Regions from separate parts of the Homo sapiens genome. Here all the other regions are linked to region 3. The links are contacts of gene promoters, found by promoter capture Hi-C in blood cells and fetal thymus (Javierre and others, 2016). All regions are on one chromosome and are shown on one strand. Each heading gives the region's core, a stretch centred on a gene start or on the middle of the fragment in contact. The rest is flanking DNA. Distances are from core to core; before and after follow the strand shown. Region 1 overlaps LSM8 (LSM8 homolog, U6 small nuclear RNA associated). Region 2 overlaps MDFIC (MyoD family inhibitor domain containing). Region 3 holds the start of THAP5 (THAP domain containing 5). Region 4 overlaps TES (testin LIM domain protein). Region 5 overlaps CAPZA2 (capping actin protein of muscle Z-line subunit alpha 2).

The links. The method cuts DNA at HindIII sites, captures the fragments that hold promoters and counts their contacts. A CHiCAGO score of 5 or more calls a contact.
Region 1: a contact is called between a fragment that was not itself captured here and the fragment with the promoter of THAP5 in region 3, in 1 of 17 cell types (non-activated CD4 T cells). The highest score is 6.6, in non-activated CD4 T cells.
Region 2: a contact is called between a fragment that was not itself captured here and the fragment with the promoter of THAP5 in region 3, in 1 of 17 cell types (naive CD8 T cells). The highest score is 5.1, in naive CD8 T cells.
Region 4: a contact is called between a fragment that was not itself captured here and the fragment with the promoter of THAP5 in region 3, in 2 of 17 cell types (non-activated CD4 T cells and activated CD4 T cells). The highest score is 5.4, in non-activated CD4 T cells.
Region 5: a fragment that was not itself captured here is called in contact with the fragment with the promoter of THAP5 in region 3 in 1 of 17 cell types (non-activated CD4 T cells); the score reaches 6.3 in non-activated CD4 T cells.

The regions. Positions count from the first base shown.
Region 1 is chr7:118,189,090-118,191,803 of GRCh38, reverse strand. All of the region lies in intron 3 of LSM8 (LSM8 homolog, U6 small nuclear RNA associated), which reads right to left. Among named protein-coding and RNA genes, the nearest start is that of LSM8, 6.3 kb to the right of the region's middle. RefSeq lists a silencer at 731-946. The HindIII fragment of the contact is 5,131 bases long and covers 1-2,714 here.
Region 2 is chr7:114,922,995-114,925,694 of GRCh38, reverse strand. It overlaps MDFIC (MyoD family inhibitor domain containing), which reads right to left. Exons shown (of 5, transcript NM_001166345.3): 2 at 2,568-2,700. The coding sequence starts at 2,661. Among named protein-coding and RNA genes, the nearest start is that of MDFIC, 2.3 kb to the right of the region's middle. RefSeq lists a silencer at 2,582-2,700. The HindIII fragment of the contact is 1,116 bases long and covers 827-1,942 here.
Region 3 is chr7:108,568,379-108,571,078 of GRCh38, reverse strand. It overlaps THAP5 (THAP domain containing 5), which reads left to right and starts at 1,373. Exons shown (of 3, transcript NM_001130475.3): 1 at 1,373-1,589. The coding sequence starts at 1,510. It overlaps DNAJB9 (DnaJ heat shock protein family (Hsp40) member B9), which reads right to left and starts at 1,205. Exons shown (of 3, transcript NM_012328.3): 1 at 976-1,205. RefSeq lists enhancers at 1,050-1,777, 1,311-1,790. The HindIII fragment of the contact is 6,219 bases long and covers 1-2,316 here.
Region 4 is chr7:116,216,720-116,219,419 of GRCh38, reverse strand. The region is part of intron 1 of TES (testin LIM domain protein); the gene reads right to left. Among named protein-coding and RNA genes, the nearest start is that of TES, 7.5 kb to the right of the region's middle. The HindIII fragment of the contact is 2,110 bases long and covers 268-2,377 here.
Region 5 is chr7:116,872,167-116,874,866 of GRCh38, reverse strand. The region is part of intron 1 of CAPZA2 (capping actin protein of muscle Z-line subunit alpha 2); the gene reads right to left. It also overlaps the pseudogene LOC100418716. Among named protein-coding and RNA genes, the nearest start is that of CAPZA2, 11 kb to the right of the region's middle. The HindIII fragment of the contact is 908 bases long and covers 942-1,849 here.

The DNA of each region.
Region 1 (2,714 bases), core at 8-2,507, 9.6 Mb before region 3:
AACTGAGAGAGCACAGTAAAAAGAATTAAGGTAAAAAGCAAACAACATTGGCGTGAGTCAGTGAACTGCATATTTAAGTCACAAAACTCAAGAAATAATTTGAAGGCACATTATTACAGGAACCAATATTAAAGGACACATTGTACACAGTGATTGTATCATGAATCTTTAAAGGAAACAGACACACAAGGATAGACACAGTAAAAAACCCTCAAACTTCCAAACCATATTTCAATTCAATTCTAGGACTGTATTAAAAATAAATTTCACAAAATCACTCCTAAAATAATTAGCAAGTAAAAATATCAATCATTTGAGTAACTTTGATGAATTAAATCAATGATATAGACAACAGCGATTAGATTGTTTTCCTAAGTTTTCAGTTAAATCCAAAGCCAGTTCTTCATATACAAAAATAATAGTAGGAACAAGTACTTTGGTATCTAACAAATCATTTTTGACGTGATTGGCTCAGGTTAAAAGCTAGAAAATTTTTTCTTGTTCAACACTAACATAGTATCTATAACTTTAAATTCATTAATACCACGCTAGATAACCAACCCATAGCCCTCTAACTGGAAATATTCAATGTTATCACTCAGACCACAAGATGTCTATGAAATATTATTTTTAAAAAGTATTGGTTGGGTTTACATTTGTTTGGTTTTAATGAGAGTAAATTCTTTTTTTTTTTTTTTGAGATAGAGTTTCGCTCTTGTTGCACAGGCTGGAGTGCAGTGGCACGATCTTGACTCACTCCAACCTCTACTTACCAGGTTCAAGCGATTCTCATGCTTCAGCCTCCCGAGTAGCTGGGATTACAGGCGCATGCCACCACACCCGGCTAATTTTTGTATTTTTAGTAGAGACAGGGTTTCACCACGTTGGCTAGGCAGGTCTCGAACCTCTGACCTCTGGTAATTCGCCAGCCTCAGCCTCCCAAAGTGCTGGGACTACAGGTGTGAGCCACTGTGCCCGGCCAAATTCTAAAGACGAATACTAGTAATAAGGGATTTGCCAAATTTTGCTTTAAAGTATATAAAGTCTTAAATCATCTAATAAATGAAAAATATGAAACTCTGGCAGAATGAATTAAGTTTTCTCAAACTAAAGGCCTCAATTCCACTCTTAAATATTCTTAAATTTTAAATGATAATATTCAGTATCATTTAAAATCCCTATGGTAAGCAGGGAAATGCTGATACATTTTTAAAAACCAGCTCTCTGGAAAAAAAGCGGGAGACTGATTTGCTGCATTTACTAATATCCATTGTGCAAACACTCCCACCACGGCCAATTTCAAGCTACTAACAAGACATCAATTAACCAGCTTGTAAAATTCCTTAAAATATAACAATATGCTTTCATGGGCCAGTAGAAGCTGGCTCTAGCACAAGACTTTTTTCACTGAAGTTCAAGAAAAAAAAATTGTTTTAAGTAGGAGAAACCTTAAAATCAATTACTATGCACAGCTCCAATATAAACAGTGTTGTTCTGATCCAGAGACCTGGGCCCTATCTGCTCTGTCTCTCTCTCATTACTTACAGCTCACCTTGTAACTCCACCTAAAAGTCATCTCTAAAATATTTTATAAACTCTTGATTTTTGATTACAGATCAAATTATTTATTCATCTAAAGGTGATGCTAACATAAACAACTTAAATGAGTAAATTATTCCTGCACTTTTTAAGTTATTCCAGGGGACAGTTAGTCCCCTAGAATTTGTTAAATGTTCTAGCTTAAAATTGCTAATGTATCTTTTGCTTCTTTCCAACTATATTTTGATTCAGTGTAGTACTCACTAGAAAACTGATTTGGCATTCTTCTAGCCTCTATAACTATACTAATACTGGCCACATGTAACTATTAAAATTAATTACAATTAAATAAAATTTAAAATTCAGTTCCTCTGTCACATCAGCCACTTTTCTTTTTTTTTTCAAGATGGAGTTTCACTCTTTTTGCCCAGGCTGGAGTGCAAAGGCGCAACCTTGGCTCACTGCAACCTCCATCTACCAGGTTCAAGAAATTCTTCTGCCTCAGCCTCCCAAGTAGCTGGGATTACAGGCATGCACCACCACACCAGGCTAATTTTTCTATTTTAAGGAGAGACGGGGTTTCACTATGCTGGCCAGGCTGGTCTTGAACTCCTGGGCTCAGGTGATCCACCCACCTTGGCCTCTCAAAGTGCTGAGATTATAGGCATGAGCCACGGCACGTGAACCACATTAGCCACTTTTCTTTTTTATTTTTTGACACGGAGTTTTGCTCTTGTTGCCCAGGCTGGAATGCAGTGCTGCGATCTCGGCTCACTGCAACTTCCACCTCCCAGGCGAATTCTCCTGACTCAGCCTCCCGAGTAGCTGGGATTACAGGCTTGCGCCACCACGCCTGGCTAATTTTTATATTTTTAGTAAAGACGCGGTTTCACCACATTGGCCAAGTTGGTCTCGAACTCCTGACCTCAAGTGATCCACCCGCCTCCACCTCCCAAAGTGCTGGGATTACATGCTTGAACCACTGTGCCCGGCCTTTTTTTTTTTGAATTGGTGTCTCAATCTGTCACCCAGGCTGGAGTGCAGTAGGGTGATCTCGGCTCACTGCAACCTCTACCTCCTGGGTTCAAGTGATTCTCCCACCTCAGCCTCCCAAGTAGCTGGAACTACAGGCGCACGCCACCAAGCCTGGCTAATTTTTGTATTTTTAGTAGAGA
Region 2 (2,700 bases), core at 135-2,634, 6.4 Mb before region 3:
AACTGAGGAATGTTGTTTCCTGGCCCATGAGCTCTCCAGTTCCCCAAAATCCCCATTGCTCCATACTGTCTGACATCTATCCTGGTTCCCTCTTACAGCCTGGAGCATGTAAGCTTATGTCCCTGCTCTGTAACTATTTTCAAAACACATGGGAAAGATTTGTAATGCTTTTTAATGCTTTCAAAACAATAGAAAGCCTTGCAGAACCACAACAAAAAGGTAGAAACTTTAAGGAGGAAGAGTATGCTCTTAATATGGACAACCTTTCTAATTCTTAATGCTAATACTAGAATGGGCTTCACTACAGGTTTTTAACAAAACACCTAAAAGGATGTAGAATTGAATTTTAGACTTGATGTGGAGTTCAGATTAGAGAATCCCCAAAATTACTTTCAACTGTAATGTTTCATGCCTTTGGTTAACAGTATGGATAGCTCATCACAATATAGTATAGTAATAAATGTAGAGCTTGTAATGTCATTATTTACCTATATATATATATTTAACTTTGCAGGGGTAGACTTGATCATATCCTTCATGTTCCTGAAATAATATTTTTTTCTGTTAATTTGTATTTAAAATTCCACTTTTCTTACTGACTTTAATATAAAGAATTTAAAAATTAGGTTTCTGTTAACTAAGCAGCCATATCCTACCGTAGAATTATTAAGCTATTCTTCAGAAAGGATGATAAAGAATCCAAGGACAGAAGCAAGAGGATAAAAGAACTTGAGAAAAGGCTTAAGAGTAGAGTGGCCTTCGAGCAAAGCTTCTTCACAAATGTCTTTATCAATAAAACCAACCTAACCAAGCTTCCCTTGAAGCTTTCCTCTAACCATTTGCTCCAAGAATTTCTTTCTTTAAATACACCTTATGACATCTGCCTGTTTAAGACATCATATTTTAACAAGATTCTGCAGACTCTCTTTTTAAAAATCAACTTTATATTTAAATTAAACTGATCCCTATTTAAAGAAAGTTTTGGATCAAAGTTAAACTAATAATAATAAAAATGTATAACTATGTTGCTAAAGCTAAGGCAATTTTCAGGTAAAATATAACCCAAGAGTTTCTACACTGATAACGTGTGTTGTACCCAACAAATGTACTTCAGGCCACTCTAGATTTTCGGGTTCTTAAGTTCAGATCACATGACACCATCCAGCATCCTAATGCACAGGTACATTAAGTACCACTGCACATTCTCCCAGATGATTTTAGAAATGCAAACTATTAAAGTTGGATATTGTAGATATTAGCTATTTCCAGGTCAAATTATTTTCCTTGGGTGTTTGATGTTGATTTTTGACATAAGCCTGGTTTAACAATTGTGATTAGCAGCTCAAGTGTGAGCATAAACAGCCCATCAATGAGTCGATATGACTACTAAGGGCATGCCTAATGACAGGAAAATGATTGTGCTGACAATACAAGGTGGAGAACACGGGCTGCTTCTCAGAAAACATATGTTTATCATTCTAGTTCTCTGATTTTCTGCAGTTAATCATTTTTATTTTCTGTTTAGAAAGCTGAGTCACTCATTTAGAGGCAAAAAATAATGATAAATGTAATTCAGTTTAACAGCCCTGGGTGCCAGAACATTTTAATTTAACCAAGATGTTTTCTGCTTTTACCTATTGCAGCTTGAAAGTTAACTCCTTCTCCAATTTTTGCTGCCTTAAAAAAAATCCCTAAGATTCACTACATTAGTACAAGTGGGAAATAAAGCTATCAGTTTATGCCTAAAATCAGGGGTATATGCTAGGTTTTTGAGCACTGGAAAAATTACTTAGTTCTGATATATCAGTGACAGAATTCTTTAGCTCAAAACCATCCTTAGAGTAAAATGCATTAGAAGTTTAAGAACCTTCCTCTCTGTCACCAATGGAAACCTAAAGTATATTGCCTTCAAGAGAAGAAAGGTTCAACTCGTTTAGAAGCTTGTTATGGAAGTTTCCCAGACACAAGAGTATTTTATAGGCTGTGTGTGTTTACACTTTGGAAGAACACAAAGAAGCTAATTCATTCTTGGAAAGTGTTTCTTATAAACCTTGTTTATTTATTTCAAAACAAACCAGTTATTGAAAACAAGCATAAGCCATTCCAAAGCTACTGGTCACAGAAACCTGAATTATCAACCGGGTGGTAGAGGAGCCAACAAGAAACAGAAAGATGAAATGGAGTAAGTGCACGCTTGTTCAGAGAGCTGCGGCAGTCCTGGATCTGCTGAAGAGACCTAGAGGAGAAGCGCTTCAGAACCTACACATTGAGTCTTAGGCCCAAACATGCATATGCTTAAGAAAGAAGCAATCCTGTCATCCTGTTTCTTCGCAACCAAAGGAAGGGGGAGTGGAGGGACCAACGGTTCCCGCCCTCTTACCCGGTTGTTGATCTAGGGCAAGGATCCTGAAGAACTTGCCTGAGTAACGCGAACTGTGCAAAAGTTCTCAACTACGAGTGGGAGCCCCTCCTCACAGCACTCCCCCCACCCCTATCTGTGCACTTGTGAGCAAACTGAAAAATGCAACAATGACAAAGAAGCTTGCCACTTGCAAGCGCGCACTCACCCTGGGCTGTGGAGCCCAGCTGGCCGCCGCCCGCCTCGGCCACGCGCTGCGGCCCCACGGGCCCGGGAGCGAGGGCTTCGCCCGCGCCGGACATGGGCCGCTCCGCCGAGCCCGCGCCGCGCCGCTGCCGCCT
Region 3 (2,700 bases), core at 124-2,623:
GTTTAAAACTCATGATGAACAGAATTTAAGATTTCTGCTAAAGCTGCCAGAAAAATGAACTTTGATAGTTTGTACTGTGGTTAAGGCAGATTCTTACTTTCACAAACTCAGTAGTTAAAATATTTCTTTTACCTTTAAACCATTAAAGAAATGTTAACTTAGAATTCTTGACAATATGTATTCAATGACTTGAGATTCAAAACGAAGGGATGGATCCTGTTTTTTGAATACGGGACCACCAGAGTCCTTAGTAACCTATAATGCCATAATAAGGCTGACGAAAAACACTACGGTTTGTGGAAATTGCCTGGCTTCCTCTCCAGCGGCCTTTCCTGAGAGTAATTAGCAGGCAGGTAGATTACTTATTTCCAGAGAGTTACTCGTAGTCACGGGTACCAAGAATCAAGAACCACTTCTCGGTTTAAGGAACACAACAGTGTGTCCCATGGACGCTGCGTCAACTGCAGGTTGCTCCCTAGTCAAAGGGCGGATCTAAAACTGACAGGGAGGCGCCTCACTGGTTCAGCAGACGTTATTCCACGGTCTCAAGGTGGACATCTAATGATTTTTTTTTAGCAGACTAGTTTTGTATTGTACAGACTTCTCATCCCCAAGACGGCCCCGCCAGCCAGCAGCCCGTGCCTTATTCCCCAGCCTCGGTGGGCGGCTGGGCTAGACCCTCCAACCTTCACCTAAAGGCGACTGGCACTTTCCCTGCCCGCCCAGGCCCCGCCGCAGAAGCTGCCCGAGACCCGGGCTCTAATCCGGCGCCCGTGAAAGCCGGCGCCACAACCCAAAACACGATTCTGTGATGCGGCTGTCTCCGTTCTTCCATTCTCTCGGCCAAAAACATGCAGCCCATTGTCCCTGCGGCGACCGTGGCGGACACCGAGGCCAAGTCAGCTCACAAAGACAGGCCTGGGCTACGGGGACCCTCCGAACTCCCCTCCCCACGACCCCGGCCTCGTCCCTCACCTGCACCCTCCGACTACTGCTGCTCCTCCACAGAGCTGAGGCGCTGGCGACCCTGACGATCGGCTCGGGTCGGCAGCTTGGGCCCGGCCCCTCACCGCGGCCTCCCGGAGCTGGCACGCACCCTAATCTCGGTCGTACACCGACCTAGCGCTCCTCCTTCCCCGCCGGCGCCCAGTCCCCTCTCAGCCAGCTCCTCACAGGCAGGAGGTAGCCGCTGGCGCCACCACCTCAGAAGACCTACACGAAACGCTTCCCCATTGGCTTCTGCCTCCCCACGTGATCCCGGCGCCCTACGCGCACGTGGAAAACTGTTGTTGCTGCTAGGGCTGTGCGCCACTTCCGGCTTCAACCCCCGAAAAGGCGGTGCTTAAACCGGAGGAGGCGGAAGTGAGTCGACAGACGAGGCGGCTTTCCCGGCAGAATGCTAGCGCAGGCGCAGGGGCTCGAGAGGCCTGGACCTGTGGCGCATCCTCAGTGAGGAGGGCCGCCCTGCATCCGTCGCCGGCCCCGGTCTCCAGGGGCCTCACCCGAGTCATGCCCCGCTATTGCGCAGCGATTTGTTGTAAGAACCGCCGGGGACGAAACAATAAAGACCGGAAGCTGAGTTTTTATCCGTAAGTTGTTTCTGGAGCAGAAGCGTCAGCCTCGCCGTGAGGCCTTGGACCTGTGGCCTTTGGGCTTGGGTGTCTCCTGTCCGCTCTGCCAGTGAGTCCTCAGCTCTCCGTACGTGGCCCGTCGCCCGCGGCAAGACGGAGGGAAGGCGCTAGTTCAGTTTAGCTAGCAATGCCCTTCTTGCGCGAGGACTGCTGGCTGGTGGCGAGGCCCAGGAGCCTGTTTGGGTGTTAACAGTTAAAACAGTAAAGTTTGCGCGGGCTTCTGTGGTTTTCAGTCTTTTCCCCACTTCACGTGATCTCATTTCATTGAACAACATTAACCACCATTTAAGATACGTGAAACCTGCGAAGTGGAAAGGTGCACGCAAAGTTAATTTACACCCCCCGCGAGGTAGGTCGCATAGGTATAATTTCATCCCACTTTTCTCCTGAGGAAACTGAGGCCCGGAATGATTAGGTAACCGACCTTGAAAGTTTAGTGTCAGAGCCAGAATTATAAACTAGTCTTCTGCTTAGGGCTGTAGATACTCTGCGGAGAACAAGGTTTTATTCTGTTACTCTGAATTACTAGAGCCACGATATATTTCCATCAAACTACTGAAGCACTGATTTTTATTCAGAAGTACAGACAAGCAGTGTCGTATAATAATTAGGGGTCCAGGCTTCAATGCTAGATCCTGGTTCCACTATTCTGTAGCTTAATGACCTCTTGGAAAGTATTTAAGCTTTGGTGTCTCACATATCTCATCTGTAACATGGAGATGTTAATAGTACTCACATGATTAATAACACATGAAAAGCAACATATTTAAAATACTGCATTTCCATTTTTTCTTGTATTTAAAAACAATTCATTTAGATCTAACCTGGTTCAGATTTTCAGCAGTTGTTTTGTGCTCATTTTACTTTAGACCTGAAGGACTTATTCATTAATGATTCGGCTGCTTTCCAGTATTTTAATTAATGGAAAAAAAATTGATAACCCCACCAGGCGCGGTGGCTCACGCCTGTAATCCCAGCACTTTGGGAGGCTGAGGCGGGCAGATCACCTGAGGTCGGCAGTCTGAGACCAGCCTGACCAACATGGAGAAACCCCGTCTGTACTAAAAAT
Region 4 (2,700 bases), core at 73-2,572, 7.6 Mb before region 3:
TGTATTAAATAATCATCACAGTTAAGGGAGATCAGAAACTCTTCAGCTGTGGGCTAGGGTCTTATACTAGCTCAGTGACATACCTCTTTAATTCAAACCTGTACTGTGGAAAAATTACAAATTACTGCAGCTCATCTACTTTAGCTTTATTTTAGAAGAGACAAAACTGAAAATGTCAAGGGTGGTTTTACTGACTTTTCACAGCCAGGTACCTTTGGTTCATGCTATTTCCTCTTTATGGAATGCTTTCTTTGCCTAATGAAAGCTTCTTTATTCTATAGGAGGTGTTTCCTTGATAAAATAATCGCAACCCACACAATTAAAGTTAGTTACTTCTGCTTCTAAGACTTCATAACAGTTGTTTGTATTTCTATTATTGCTGTGCTACTCAAAGTGGCAGTTCACAAAGTGTAAGTCACTAGTCTGTGATGAGATAGGCAGAGAAACTGACAGTAGGCAATTAGGAACTACTATATACTTAAAGTAATTTTGTGTCTCTTGCATTTAATAATTTTTTTAATTGGCCCTGTATTTGTCTTTTAAGTAATAAATTTTTATTGTGTTTTTAAAAATATCAACCAATGATTAATTTTTGTTTATAAAAAGGTTCCTCATCCCAGATAAGAAATTGTATTATAGCACTTATGTCATTCTATCCAGCACTGTAGTTAACTTACACATCTGTTTTGCTCACTCATCTTCCTTCCTTTTTTAAAAAAAAATCTATCAAAGGTGACATCGGTATTTTGCTCAAGAGGTGATACTGATAGATATGGAGTTTAGAGTCTGTAGTTTTAAATCTAAACTGCACTTTTAATATTCTCTACGAAAAACAAAGGGTAATTTTTTTAACCCCCAGTTATTTTTATTGTAGGCCAGTATCTCATAAAGGAAAAATCAGATCCTTGATCCTTACTTTGTGACTCATTCTGTTAAGACTGTCACGTTGTGGTCATATAAAAACAAAAATCCACCTAACATCTACATGGTCATTTTTCAATGAAACATGATATCACTTTATCATCAAACAAAGCAAGGGAAAAGTTCATTGTGGCTAGAGATGCATTAATGGACTCCTTATCAAGGCATTTCTGCTGGGCTGAATGCCATCTTTTCTGCTGGGCTCGCTGCTCAGATAAGCTATGCAATGAACACCCTGAAACTCCTGTTTACAGCTTTTCACAGTGGCCAGAATGTCACAATGATAAACACAAGCTGAATCACTCATGGTTTGAGGATAATTCAGCATTTCAGATTAAGTATATTTACAGAGTAGTAACTTTGCTGTCATTCAGCAGATGAGATCTCAGCAATCCCCACTAGGCTGGCTTCTAATAACGCTCTCCCACTTTAAGCCATGCTCAAATCTGAGCCGACTCCCCACCATTCTAACAGACTAAGGAACAGAGAAATTGGCAATTCTAAACTATGCTTTTTTACTTTTTTGAATTTGACCAAAATAAATACAGTGATACTTAGAAAATTATAGTCATGCATATCCTTATCGCTCTAATTCCCCATTATCTAACTAGAATGTTAGGTAGACAGGGCACTTAGAACTGAAAATTGACAAAACCATGCTAAATGGCAGCTCTTTTGTAGGAGAGTCAAAGATTGTAGTTGGGCAGTTGAAAAGCATAACCTCTAAATTTAATCCTCTAATAGTGCTTGAGGCAAATTTTAAACATGGATATTTACTCAAAGAACAGTAGTGAAGTTATCAATTACCAAATTATTTTTCTTTAAAATCCTGAAAATCTGCAGTTTTGCAATGTTTTTGATTAGTCTTTTGTTTCCTTATCTTCCTCTCCTAGAAAAAGTTGATTTCATAATTAATAATATAATTTCTCTGGATACCACCACCTTGTAAAAAGTAAAATAATTTCCTGTATATTAATGATTTAATAAACAATTCTTTTAAAATCATAATTTTGGTTACCATGGCAGTAGTTACCAAACAAAAATTAGCTATGACTGCAAACAGGAAATCCAAGAATGACTCTTTTGTAAGGCATTTGTAGGCAGGGAGAAGACTTATAGTTTGTGTATATTATAGGTGTAAGTCTATTTGTATAGCTTTATGCATTCATAATCTTTTTCACATTCTAATACATAAAAGCTGCTTTCTCATTTTCCCATCTTTTACATTTGCTATTACTTAAGACAAATGAAATAAGAATCCCTAATTACAAAGTTTGCAAAACCAAGAATCAAGCCCAGGGATCACCATCAAAATTGCTCACTGTCTGTGTTAGAAACATAGCGTACTGCTAACCTATCAAGAGTTCACTGACGGGTATAATTCCAGTTGTGCTTACTTTCAATATTTACATTGCTCTATCAACACTTGCAATAGCATAATTCTATGATACAAGCTTAAGTTCAGTGTCATTCTTGTTCACAACTATAACCCCAGAGTCTAGAACAGTGCATGGTACGTAAAAAAGCACTCATATAGTTTTTTTTTAATCTTTTAAAATTATTTTAACAGCCTTATTTTGAGAGAGATAACTTTTAAAGAAAATAAATGTTCCATTATTTTTCATTTTCCCATAATTAAATACCAAGGTAAGTAATACATCACTCCTAGACTTATGGGACCCACACTATTACAGCCTTCAGAGCCTTATACTACAGATTTAAATTAATTAAACTTAACCTAATATCTTCAAATACCTCCACAAATATTATGAAAATTAA
Region 5 (2,700 bases), core at 146-2,645, 8.3 Mb before region 3:
TCCACCCACCTTGGCCTCCCAAAGTGCTGGGATTACAGGCATGAGCCACCGTGCCCAGCCTAATTCCATTATTCTTAGAGAGAATTCCCCAGTCCCTTCCCTTAGGAGAGAAAGGAAAGAATGCTGTTTTCTCCATCAAGTAAAAGCACAGTTCACTTTGATAAACCCCACAGGAAACTGTCTTCTGCTTTCCACTATGCACTACTTTCTTTTTGTCAAGTGTCAGGAGATGCTGCTTAGGATCAGAAGTGTCTCTGACTGCAGTGAAAAACACCTTCTGCTGATGCTTGGATATTGCTTGCTATACATTGCACTTGACGTGCTGCTGGCAAAGACAGAGACACTGATGCCCTCAGATTGTATACAACGTGCCTACATCTTGAATCTAAAAAGAAAAATCAGCTTCTCCACATTCTTTCTAGTATGATCAAGAGGCCAGATAAAGAGCCAAGGCAAGTGATACTAACTGGTGTTACGGCATTCACACATCATGTCGGACCAACACATGCAGAAGCCGAACATTTACCACAGTGATGGGAAGAGGTGAGTCACAAAGACCCAAAAAGGACACTACTTGTAGCTAAATCCTGTGGAGTAGTGGTGCCTTACTTTCCTCAAGAAGTTCCTAACTCCCTGGTCCTCCTTAAATGGAAGGTAAAGCATATTTGATATGAGAAGCTGTGATCAAAAGCCTTGGTATCATTATGGGATACCCTGATGAACCAGGCAAGTATCAGCAGGTTTTTGAATTGTTGCCTTTGGCCTTGAGTGATATCTCAGAAAAAGTAGTGAGTGCAAAACATCTAGTACTTTTAATGGCCTATGATACTTGGAATATGGAATTTGGAAATGTACAATCTTACACCTACATTGCTGAATAAGACTGAAAAACTTATCAGGGAAAGAGAACAAAGGGAAGGAGGGCTGGATGAACATAAGCTTCACATGTATCTTTCTGCCTTGCAATCCTTGACTGTGTCACTCTTTGCATTAATGGTACAGAATGTACCTTTCTCAAGCAAAGACAAGCTCCATGGTGAAGTACCACAGGTGGAAGTGACTGGGTTCCCTCAGCCTATGTCACCTCTTCAAGATGTGTTTATTACTGGAAGTCAGAAGCAATTGGTAGTGCTACTTCAGTTTTATAATTACCATCTAGAACATGAGGGTACAACGTGAGAGTTTACTGTGGGTTGTCAATCATTACCACAATTTACAGAAATAGATGGCAAAATTAATGTTACTTCACCTGCTTATGTCCATGAATTCTCCAGATTGTTCTAGTGCCTTTGCTGAACATTTGGCAACATGTTTTCAAACACTAAGGTAAAACTTGAGTTCCAGGAGATTTTAAAACTGTCTGAAGAAAACAATTCCTTAACAGGAAATAGAGTCCTCACCAAAGCAGCTATAAAAATGGTAAACTAACAAAAATTAAAAAAAATTTTTTTAAACCTTAAGCAAGGTTTAAAGGAGATGAAAGTATAAAAAGCAGACAATGTATGTGCATGGTAGCACACAGACATACATGTACACACATACACACCACCAAAAAACAACAACAAAAAACAAAACCCCCAAACAGCCATCTAGAGCCATTAAATTTAGAAGCAAAGGACCCTGCACTCTCCAGCAGTCCAAAGGTACACTACTATGGGAAATAGCTATACTAAAAATGACTCACCGTTTAGCTTAAATTCAAATTTACTGAGGCATCAGTATTTTATCTGAGAATCCTACCTAGAGCCCCTATAATTTCCACATGGTATGGGCCGCCATGATCAAGGAAGGAGACATTAGGGTAGGAATTTTTCAGATATGAACGGCAGTCAGACTCACCTGGAAAGCTTGGAAAAAATACAGATTCCCACCCTCTATTCCAGACCCAGTGAATCTATCTCCAGAGAATGGGGACCTAGAAATCTATGTTTTAGAAAATCTCTCCACGTGATTCTGAAAGGTGACCAGATATTGCACCCATGCCCTAAGGGACTTCAGATGTAAAATTTGAAGTGTCTAGTCTTCTTGAGAAATGACTTATAGGTTTTACTTGATTCTCAAGAAAATGTAACACCAAAAAGGGTCACTGCTTTAGACACTGGTAGTAAAATTAAAGGAGCCACTATGCACTTTTCCACTTCAACTAAAAGAATTATTTGAAGTTGTCTTCCACAGCTCTCTAAAAAATGGCTATGTCTTTTGAGAATTAGAGGTAAAACCGGAGGAAAAAACCACTTTTTTGAACTTTATGACATTTAAATAGTTTATGACCAAGTGATCACTATCACATGTCTGTGTGTCAGGTGAATTTATCTTAATATGGGTAAACTTAAGAGTGGTAATTTGTTTTAATAAGTTTTCCTCTAAATTTTTTTCCTTTATAATTATCATTTTGATTGGTAATTAAAAACAGGGCCCACAGCACTTAACCTGAAACTGGGTCATCTAAAGAACTCAACATTGATTCTTCTTTAAATATGTTTTTACCATTTATTTAAAATATGAAGAAACCCATGAATCCAAAGTAGGCATTATCATCAACTAAAAGAAAGTAAGTTATGTAAACTATTCTTTATCTTACGTTTTCAATTTCCTTTTCCCTTCTGAATCATTTCCCTTATACACCCTAGAATGTTCTCTTACAAAAAAAAAGTATTCTTAAAATGAAATAGCAGGAAAAAACAAAGTAGTAATACATAT